Linked DNA regions of Homo sapiens: region 2 is linked to region 1. Evidence: promoter capture Hi-C in human tissues and cell types (Jung and others, 2019). All regions are on one chromosome and are shown on one strand. The core of a region is centred on a gene start or on the middle of the fragment in contact, and the rest is flanking DNA. Distances in the headings are between cores, read along the strand shown. Region 1 holds the start of ERMAP (erythroblast membrane associated protein (Scianna blood group)). Region 2 overlaps FOXJ3 (forkhead box J3).

What was found. The method cuts DNA at HindIII sites, captures the fragments that hold promoters and counts their contacts. A contact is called where the count stands out against the background at its distance.
Region 2: a fragment that was not itself captured here is called in contact with the fragment with the promoter of ERMAP in region 1 in 2 of the 25 tissues and cell types used here (hippocampus and lymphoblastoid cells).

The regions. Positions count from the first base shown.
Region 1 is chr1:42,814,970-42,819,171 of GRCh38, reverse strand. ERMAP (erythroblast membrane associated protein (Scianna blood group)) reads right to left here and starts at 2,050. Exons shown (of 12, transcript NM_001017922.2): 1 at 1,919-2,050. SVBP (small vasohibin binding protein) reads left to right here and starts at 1,775. Exons shown (of 3, transcript NM_199342.4): 1 at 1,775-1,982; 2 at 2,592-2,741. The coding sequence starts at 2,628. RefSeq lists silencers at 1,632-1,921, 2,072-2,271, 2,832-2,901. The HindIII fragment of the contact is 4,586 bases long and covers 1-3,423 here.
Region 2 is chr1:42,329,510-42,333,711 of GRCh38, reverse strand. All of the region lies in intron 1 of FOXJ3 (forkhead box J3), which reads left to right. Among named protein-coding and RNA genes, the nearest start is that of FOXJ3, 3.6 kb to the left of the region's middle. The HindIII fragment of the contact is 5,072 bases long and covers 1-4,202 here.

The DNA of each region.
Region 1 (4,202 bases), core at 801-3,300:
CGCTCCTAACTTATCCTCTTCCTCACCGTTTCCCAAACCAACTCATCACACCTTCTCCACTTTCAACAGTGGCTCAGTGGCACCACTACTTTTCCAGTCTTCCATGTGGCTTTTCCACTCCTCCATTCCCTATAGCTGGTTTGTTTTTAGCTGGCTTCTAAAGGTCCTGCCGTGTCTTCAGCTGTAATCTAGTTCATAGCTTATATGAACGTTATAAACCATACCATGTGACACAAATGTAAAATACCAGTACTACATCAAGATTTCTGAAATAGACTCTGACTTGGTTACTTTTATTAATAATAATCGAATCAGCATTTGTATAGGGTTTTTAAAAAGACATTTAATGTACTTTCCTCTGATTGCTAAAGTATAAACGTTTACTGTAGAAATTTTGGAAAAGCTGGGCGCAATTGCTCACATCTGTAATCCCAGCACTCTGGGAGACTGAGGCAGGAGGATCACTTGAGCCCAGGATTTCCAGATCACCCTGGGAAACACAGTGAGACTCCATCTCTACAAAAAAATTTTAAAAAATTAGCCAGGCATGATGGTGTGTGCCTGTAGTCCCAGATACTTTGGAGGCTGAGGTGGGAGGATTGCTTGAGCCCAGGTTACAGTGAGTTATGATCACACCACTGCACTCCAGCCTGGGTGACAGAGCAAGACCCCATCTATTTTTTAAAAATTAAATAAATAAAAAATAAACATTGTGCAGTAGATCTCTAGAACTTTTTCACCTTACAAACCTAAAATTCTATACCCTTTAAACAATTCCTCTTTTCCCTCTCTCCTAGCCACTGGCAGTCACCATTCTACTTTCTGTTTCTTAGACTTTGATTGCTTTAGATACTTCATATGAATGGAAACATGCAGTATTTGTCTTTTTGGGGCATTGTGCTCACTTTTAAGGCTTTTGATACCTAGTACTAAACTGACCTCCAGAAAGGCTGTTAACGATTTACAGTTTGACTGGAAGCGTGTGTCCATCTGGGCTGAGTTCATTGCTTGCTTAGCATCTATCAGTTGTTTCAATTCTTGCCAGTTTGATAGAGGAACAAATAGTGGACCCAAACAGGGTTTTACTTTGGATAAGGCCATTGTCCTATGAATCCTGGCTGAAATATTTGCTCCAGCACTTAGAAGCTGTGTGACCCGGGACAACTCACTTAACTTTTCAATGCTTCTGTTCCCTTATGTGTAAATGGGGATAATAATATACACGTATACATTATACACACTTATTATGAGGAATTAGTTAATAAATGTGAAGCTGTAAGAACAGTGCCTGGAATATAGTAAGCCCAAATGTAAGGTAGCTATTATCATTTTTGTCAATCCTTGCTAATGTAATACCTGGAAAATTACAGCCAGCTATTTTAATTTACATCTCCTCGGTAATCAGTTGAACGTGAATGTTCTCTGTATTTATACTGGCTATTGGTACTTCTGTCAAGATTTCCTTTTTCAAAGCACTGTGGCAAACGGGATCTCACTTGATCCTCCCAATAAACTCATGAATGAAGAAGGTGGCAATCATCAATCCCCACTTTTCGAATTAAGAAATTGAGCCTCGGAATTCGAATTCTGAGCAATTCCAATTCCAGGATTCGGATCTCACCCTCTAAAACCTAGTAGCTGTTGCAGAAAATATAACGGGAAAAAGCTTTGGTTAGCCGTAACCACCACCCACCCCGGTGTGGCTCCGCCCCTGCCCCGCCCCGGCACCGGCTTGCCCCGCCCCGCCCTCTACGCGGGTTTCCAGCCATCCTCTCTGCGCACGCGCGGCCGCTCCTGCGGGCGGAAGCCTCCTGGCGCTCGGCCCTGCGCCCCTCCCCCCGGCGCGCGGCCCCGCCCAGGACGAGGGGCGGTGGGCAGGCAGCGCTGGGTCCAGTGGTCGGGGGAAGGCGAGGATTACCCTCCCGGAGGCGTTGTCTGCGACTCGGCGGAGGCTCCAACTTCCAGTGGCCCGGTCGGGAAAGGTACAGACTCCCAAGCCTCTTGGTCGGCGGCTCCAGCGACCGCCATTTTCCTCCAGGAGAGGGAAGAGGGCAGGAGGCGGGGGCCGTCCCCTGGGGCCGGGCGGGCCGGGGCGGGGTCGGGGGGCCGGGCGGTGGGGGGCGGGCCCGGCTGGCTATGGGGCCCGGCCCCCTGGCCCCAGGAGCGGCTGCTGCGGCGGAGTTAGGCCGGCCGCAGTGGGAAAACCCTGGGCGCCCTCTGGGTCTCAGCGTCCCATTAGGACGGTTCCGCGCTGGGTGCCGCACGCCGCACAGTGGGCAACGCTTTCACAGGGGTCTTTGCATTTCACCCGCACACAGCAGCTCCTGGAGGGAGGCCAGGAAAACACTTAACCCATTTTGCAGACAGAAAACTAAGGCTCAAAGTGGGGAGGAGACTTGCCCAGGGACACCCAGCGAGGTTGTGGCCTTGGGACTCGGTTCCTACTCCCCCACATCCAGCGCCCTTGCCACCAGACCACTCTGCCTCACCTGGCAAAGGATGGGGCGGAGCTAAAGGATTAGAGGAGTAACTGGCAGGGTATTTTTTGTTTTGTTTTGTTTTGAAGATCTGCCTCTTTCTGTACCACCCAGATCAGAGCCTCCTAAGAAATATCCAGAAGTCAAGCCATGGATCCACCTGCACGTAAAGAAAAAACCAAAGTTAAAGAATCTGTCAGCAGAGTTGAGAAGGCCAAACAGAAATCAGCCCAGCAGGAGCTGAAGCAGAGACAAAGAGCAGAGGTGAGATTAAGGCGGAGGCTCTGTATGCCTGTAGTCTGCTGGAGATGATGCTGGAATAGAGAAACAGCAGAAAGGAGAACTGACAGCGAGCCATACTTGCCTCCAGGCAGGATGGGTGTTCTCCCAGGTTTAGAGGGGACAACACTGAGGTTCAGAATGGTGAGGTGGCAGCCCAGAATCACATGCCAAGTTAGTGTCAGAACCCCAGTCTGGTGCGGAGCTTTTGTGGTAAGAGACCCAAGGGAAGGAAGAAAGGAAAAAAAATGATATGTAAGGGGAAAGAAGGGGTCAGAATGAGAGAGAGCACGCAAGTGTCAGACACCCCCAGTACAGATGTTCTGGATTTGGTGCGGAAAGCAGCTACTCATGCCAGGTAGAGGCCCAAGCTTTAAACTCACCAGTGTGTTCCTTTGTTCTCTCAACGATTACAATCAACTTGAGAATAAAAAGCTTTAAACTTTACCCTGCCAATATTGAGCCACATACAGACATAAGTATTTTATTTTAGTATTTAATGTCAGGGAAAATCTTGCTGGTCTCTTTTTCCCTCTTTGTTTTGTTTATCTGTCTGCTTTGTTCATTTCCTGTCTTACATCCTTTTACTTCTCCATGGACAACTACTTTTTTTTATACTTTTACATTCAAATATATTAATAGATATCCTTGAACAATATACAGTAGTATTTTAAATTTTTACATTAATAAAATTCCTGCATTTTATTTTGCATTTTGCTTACATTGTTTTTTAGAACTATTCATGCCAATATAAGAATTTAGTTTATTCTCATTAATTTTTATAATAGTCTATTTTATGCATCCATTTTACTTAGTATATTTATTCATTCTTACAGAGATGCACATTTAAATTATTTATAGTATTTTTTGCTATTACAAACATTGCTGTAGTGAAAAGCTTTTAGGTGTCTCCTTTGGCACCTGCCTTAGAATTTCTGTAGGTTATTTAACTAGAAAAATTACTGGGTACATTCTCAATTTTACTAGACATTGCCACATTGCTTTTTTTTTTTGAGATGGAGTCTCTTTTTATTTTTTATTTTTTATTATTATACTTTAAGTTCTAGGGTACCTGTGCACAACATGCAGGTTTGTTACATATGTATACATGTGCCATGTTGGTGTGCTGCACCCATTAACTCGTCATTTACATTAGGTATATCTCCTAATGCTTTCCCTCCCCCCTCCCCCCACCCCACAACAGGCCCTGGTGTGTGATGTTCCCCTTCCTGTGTCCAAGTGTTCTCATTGTTCAGTTCCCACCTATGAGTGAGAACATGCGGTGTTTGGTTTTTTGTTCTTACGATAGTTTGCTGAGAATGATGGTTTCCAGCTTCATCCATGTCCCTACAAAGGACATGAACTCATCCCTTTTTATGGCTGCATAGTATTCCATGGTGTATATGTGCCACATTTTCTTAATCCAGTCTATCATTGATGGACACT
Region 2 (4,202 bases), core at 1,185-3,684, 490 kb after region 1:
TTCCAGATTAGGGTTTCCATCTTCTGTTTTGCTGTTTTGAGACCACAGATTGTTCCCGCAATAACAGTGAGAGAAGCCTATTCCTCCTGGTCCCTAGCAAATATTTATAGAAAAGCAGTAACTCCTCTCTTTTTCTGAGTGGTATATATTATATAGACGTGATTAAGTTTTTTAGTTTCTTAGATAAATAGGAGGATTTCTCTTTTTGCTTTTGTGTCTCAGAATTGAGGTGAATCTTCTTGGTTTTGTGCTGCCGAGGACAAAACTGGGAAGTTTCTCATGCTTTCATTAGATTTTTTTTGGATGAGGCTAGAACGTGTTTATTTTGGCTCTTTTTTGTTCATTAGTTTGGGTAAAATAAAAAAACTTAATGTTTCAAAGTCACTTACTAGATTCCAAAGTGGCCTGCATTCTCACTTTTTCACATTGTACATTCTTTGAGTATATTTTTGACATTTTTTTCCTTTTATCTGGTACAGTTCGTATATTCCCTTTCCTTCTATGTAGAATGAAAATATTTAAATATAGATTTTAGATTATATTTTTTCATTATGCTAAGTATGGGTGGGGCAGTGGAAAATGGAGAATGTTGTTCTGATACATACTGAGGCTTTTTGTTTTTTTTTGGTAAGTCAGCATTTGTGTACTTCTGTAAAGTACCGAGTTATCTATGTGTGAAGTCTGTATGAAGAGACGAATAAGATACGTGGTCTCTTGGAAAGCTTCAACTTATATCGAAAGAACAGAGTTTCTTTTTCTGTTCGGGAAACATGTACATCATTCAGAATTATCAAACTGCATCAAACTTCTCCTTGGGATAACAGTACAACCAAGGTCAAAAGTGTAAGGGACATTTGAGAAAGATACAAATTTCCAAAGGGAAAGAGGTGTATTTCAGGAGAGTGAAGGGGCCTGTGCAAAGCGAGAGAAGTGGCAATGTACAAATGATATCAAGGAGCTTGACTGTCAGATCATCTGTGTTGGTGAATAATAATAAATGAGTTTAGGATTGGTGAGGGGGTATTGATGGAGGATCTTTCAAGGATAGAGGGTTTAGTTTGATAGGGTACCACAATGGGTTCTAAAGAATGAGAGTAAGATGATGCATCTTGTTCCTGAGGAAGGTTTTTGTTTCAGCTGAGTGTCCTGGGAGTGGAGAGACTGATTAGAGTGCTTATGGAGAATTTTAGGAATAAGCTGATGAGGGTCTGATATAAGATAGTGGTTGTAGGAATAAAATAATAGCTAACATTTACTTACTGTATGACAGGTATTCTAAGCGCCTACGTTTGTTTAATTCATTAAATCTTCATAATAAGGTATTAAAATCAGAAGGGACTTTGGGCAAGTTGCTTAACCTTATGCATGTAATTATTCCCATATACAATGAACGGTTAGATGAAAGGTAGATTTTGCACTGACCAGGGATATAGATGCTAGTAAAACACATCAGTAGATGTGTGTTGGGAGGGTAGTAGTATAATGAAGAAAGAGCTTTGAGGTTTGGAATTTTGGGTCTTGAAATAGGCTAATAGCATTCTGAGAAGAACCAGAAAGTGCATCATTTCCAGGATAGGAAGATTTTCTACAAGGGCAGGGTGTTGACAGTTTCAAATGCGGTGTAGAAGTTCAGAAACAGTGACTACAATGAAAAGACAATTGAATTAAAGCAGAAGAGATAATTTGTAAACTTAGAGAGAAAATTGAAAGGAGGGGTAAGAATAGATGCCAGATTTGTTTTTCACAGGATTTGTAGAGACATTAGTATCTGATATGGTAATTATTAGTATTTCCTTAAAAAAAGAAACAAACTTATGTTCCAAAGCCAGTGATTTTATACTTTAACGCTTCTCTCCTTAAACTTTTATTCTTTTTTTTTTTTAAAAAAGCTTTCTTGAAGTATAATTCACATACCATTTCATTCACACATTTAAAGTATACAAGTCAGTGGTTTTTAGTGTATTCACAGAGTTGTGCAACCATCACCACAGTCATTTTTAGGACAGCATTTCAAAAAAAAGCCTTGTACCCATTGGCAGTCACTCCCCGTACCCTCACCTCCAGGCAGCCACTAATGTACTTACAATCTTGTAGAGATGTTGATAATTCCAAATGCCTGTTGTGGGCATTTCATACAACATACGGTCTTTTGTGTCTGACTTCTTTCACTTGCATATGTTTCAAGGCCCATCCATGTAGCATGTATCAGTATTTCATTCCTTTTTATTGCCAAATAATATTCCACTGTATGTATATACTACGTTGATAGCCATTGCTTTAGTTGATGGACATTTGAGTTTCTTATTCTTTCATTATTATTATTATTATTTGAGACAGAGTTTCTCTCTGTCGCCTAGGCTGGAGTGCAGTGGCGCCATCTCGGCTCGCTGCAACCTCTGCCTCCCAGGTTCAAGCGATTCTCCCACCTCACCCTCCACAGTAGCTGGGATTACAGGCGTGCACCACCATGCCCCGCTAATTTCTGCGTTTTTAGTGGAGACGAGGTTTCACCATGTTGGCCAGGCTGGTCTTTGAACTCCTGACCTCAAGTGGTCTGCCTGCCTCGGCCTCCCAAAGTGCTGAGACTACAGGTGTAAGCCACCGCGCCTGGTCAAGTTTCTTAATTCTTTTAAACTCCTCCCCATTTTCATTGAATCTTCACCCTGCCAACCCCTCACATGGCCTTCTTTTAGATTATAACCTCTGCCATGCATTTTGCTAAGCATTGGGGATATAAAGATGAATAAGACATGGCCCTTGAACATTCATATAGTGTTTTATTGGTTTATATACATTTTCTCATACATTCTCTAATTTGATCTCAACAACCCTGTGATAAAGGCAGAATATCTTAAAGATGAGCAATTTGAAGTTTAGGTGACCTGCTTAGGGTTGTACACTTAAGTAATTGGTGGAGCAGGTAGGTCTTCTTAGTTCATATTTGTGCTATTTCCACTACTCTGTGCTGCTGTTTTAACTTAAAAATTCTCATGTAATTTCCTGGAGACTTAGAGGGACTGGAAAATGTACTGACTCAAAGAATCACTGTTTTTTTTTGTTTGTTTGTTTTGTTTTTGAGACAGGGTCTCACTCTTGCCCAGGCTGGAGTGCAGTGGCACGATCATGGCTCATTGCAACCTCAACCTCCTGGGCCCCAGTGATCCTCCCACCTCAGCCCCCTAAGTAGCTGGGACTACAGGTGCGCGCCACCATGCTCAGCTAATTTTTGTATTTTTTGTAGAGAAGTGGTTTCGCTATGTTGCCCAGGCTGGTCGCTAACTCCCGGGCTCAAGTGATCCGCCAACCCTGGCCTCCCAAAGCGCTAGGATTACAGGCGTGAGCCACTGCAGTCAGCCCACTGATTTTCTTCCGGACTTAAAATGAAGATTTTTTTCCCTAGATTCTGCCACTTGTTTGTTCTGTGTTTTAGACAAATCATTTCATATTTCTTTTCTTTCAGAACTTTCATGGAGTTCATGTGATGATAATGTAATGATAATAATAGCTAACATTTTTTGAAGCCTTACTATGGGCCTAAAAGTGTTCTAAGTACTCTACATTCATTATCCATATCTTACAACCCTTAATATTTTATAAATTTTATAAGTAGGTTTTATAAATATATCGTAGATTTTATAAGTTTATTGTAGTTGTAAATTTTATAAATACGGTAGTTTTACAGATGAGGAAATGGGCACAGAGAGGTTGATTTGACTAAGGGAACATAGCTAGGAATGGAAAGAGCCAGGATTTGAACCCTTGTAGTCTATTTTCAGAACTCTGTGGCTCTTAATCACTACACTGTTCTGTTTACTGTGTTACGAATTAATAGAGGATAATATTTCAAGTAAGGGCATGATAGAATATGAAGATTTGATTTTGAATGTAGTTGGGGAAACAGTTAAACAGCAATTTTAACTTGACATCGCATCCGCATTTCTTTTAAAAGTGGACTTAACACTACAGTGTACAAAGATACATATTGTTTAGACATTTTTTTGTTTGTCCCTGCTCAAAACTTCTCAGCTCAGAAATTACATTATTTTCACTGATCTTCACTGTTGGCTTTGTTAGTCACTTAGCTTTCCACATTGCCACTATTCAGAAACCTTGGCTTGAGACAGCTAAAGCTCACTTTTACCTCTCTCCTCAGCCTTCCTTTAACTGTGAATTTTTGTTTTCCATTTTGAACAGTTAGCCTT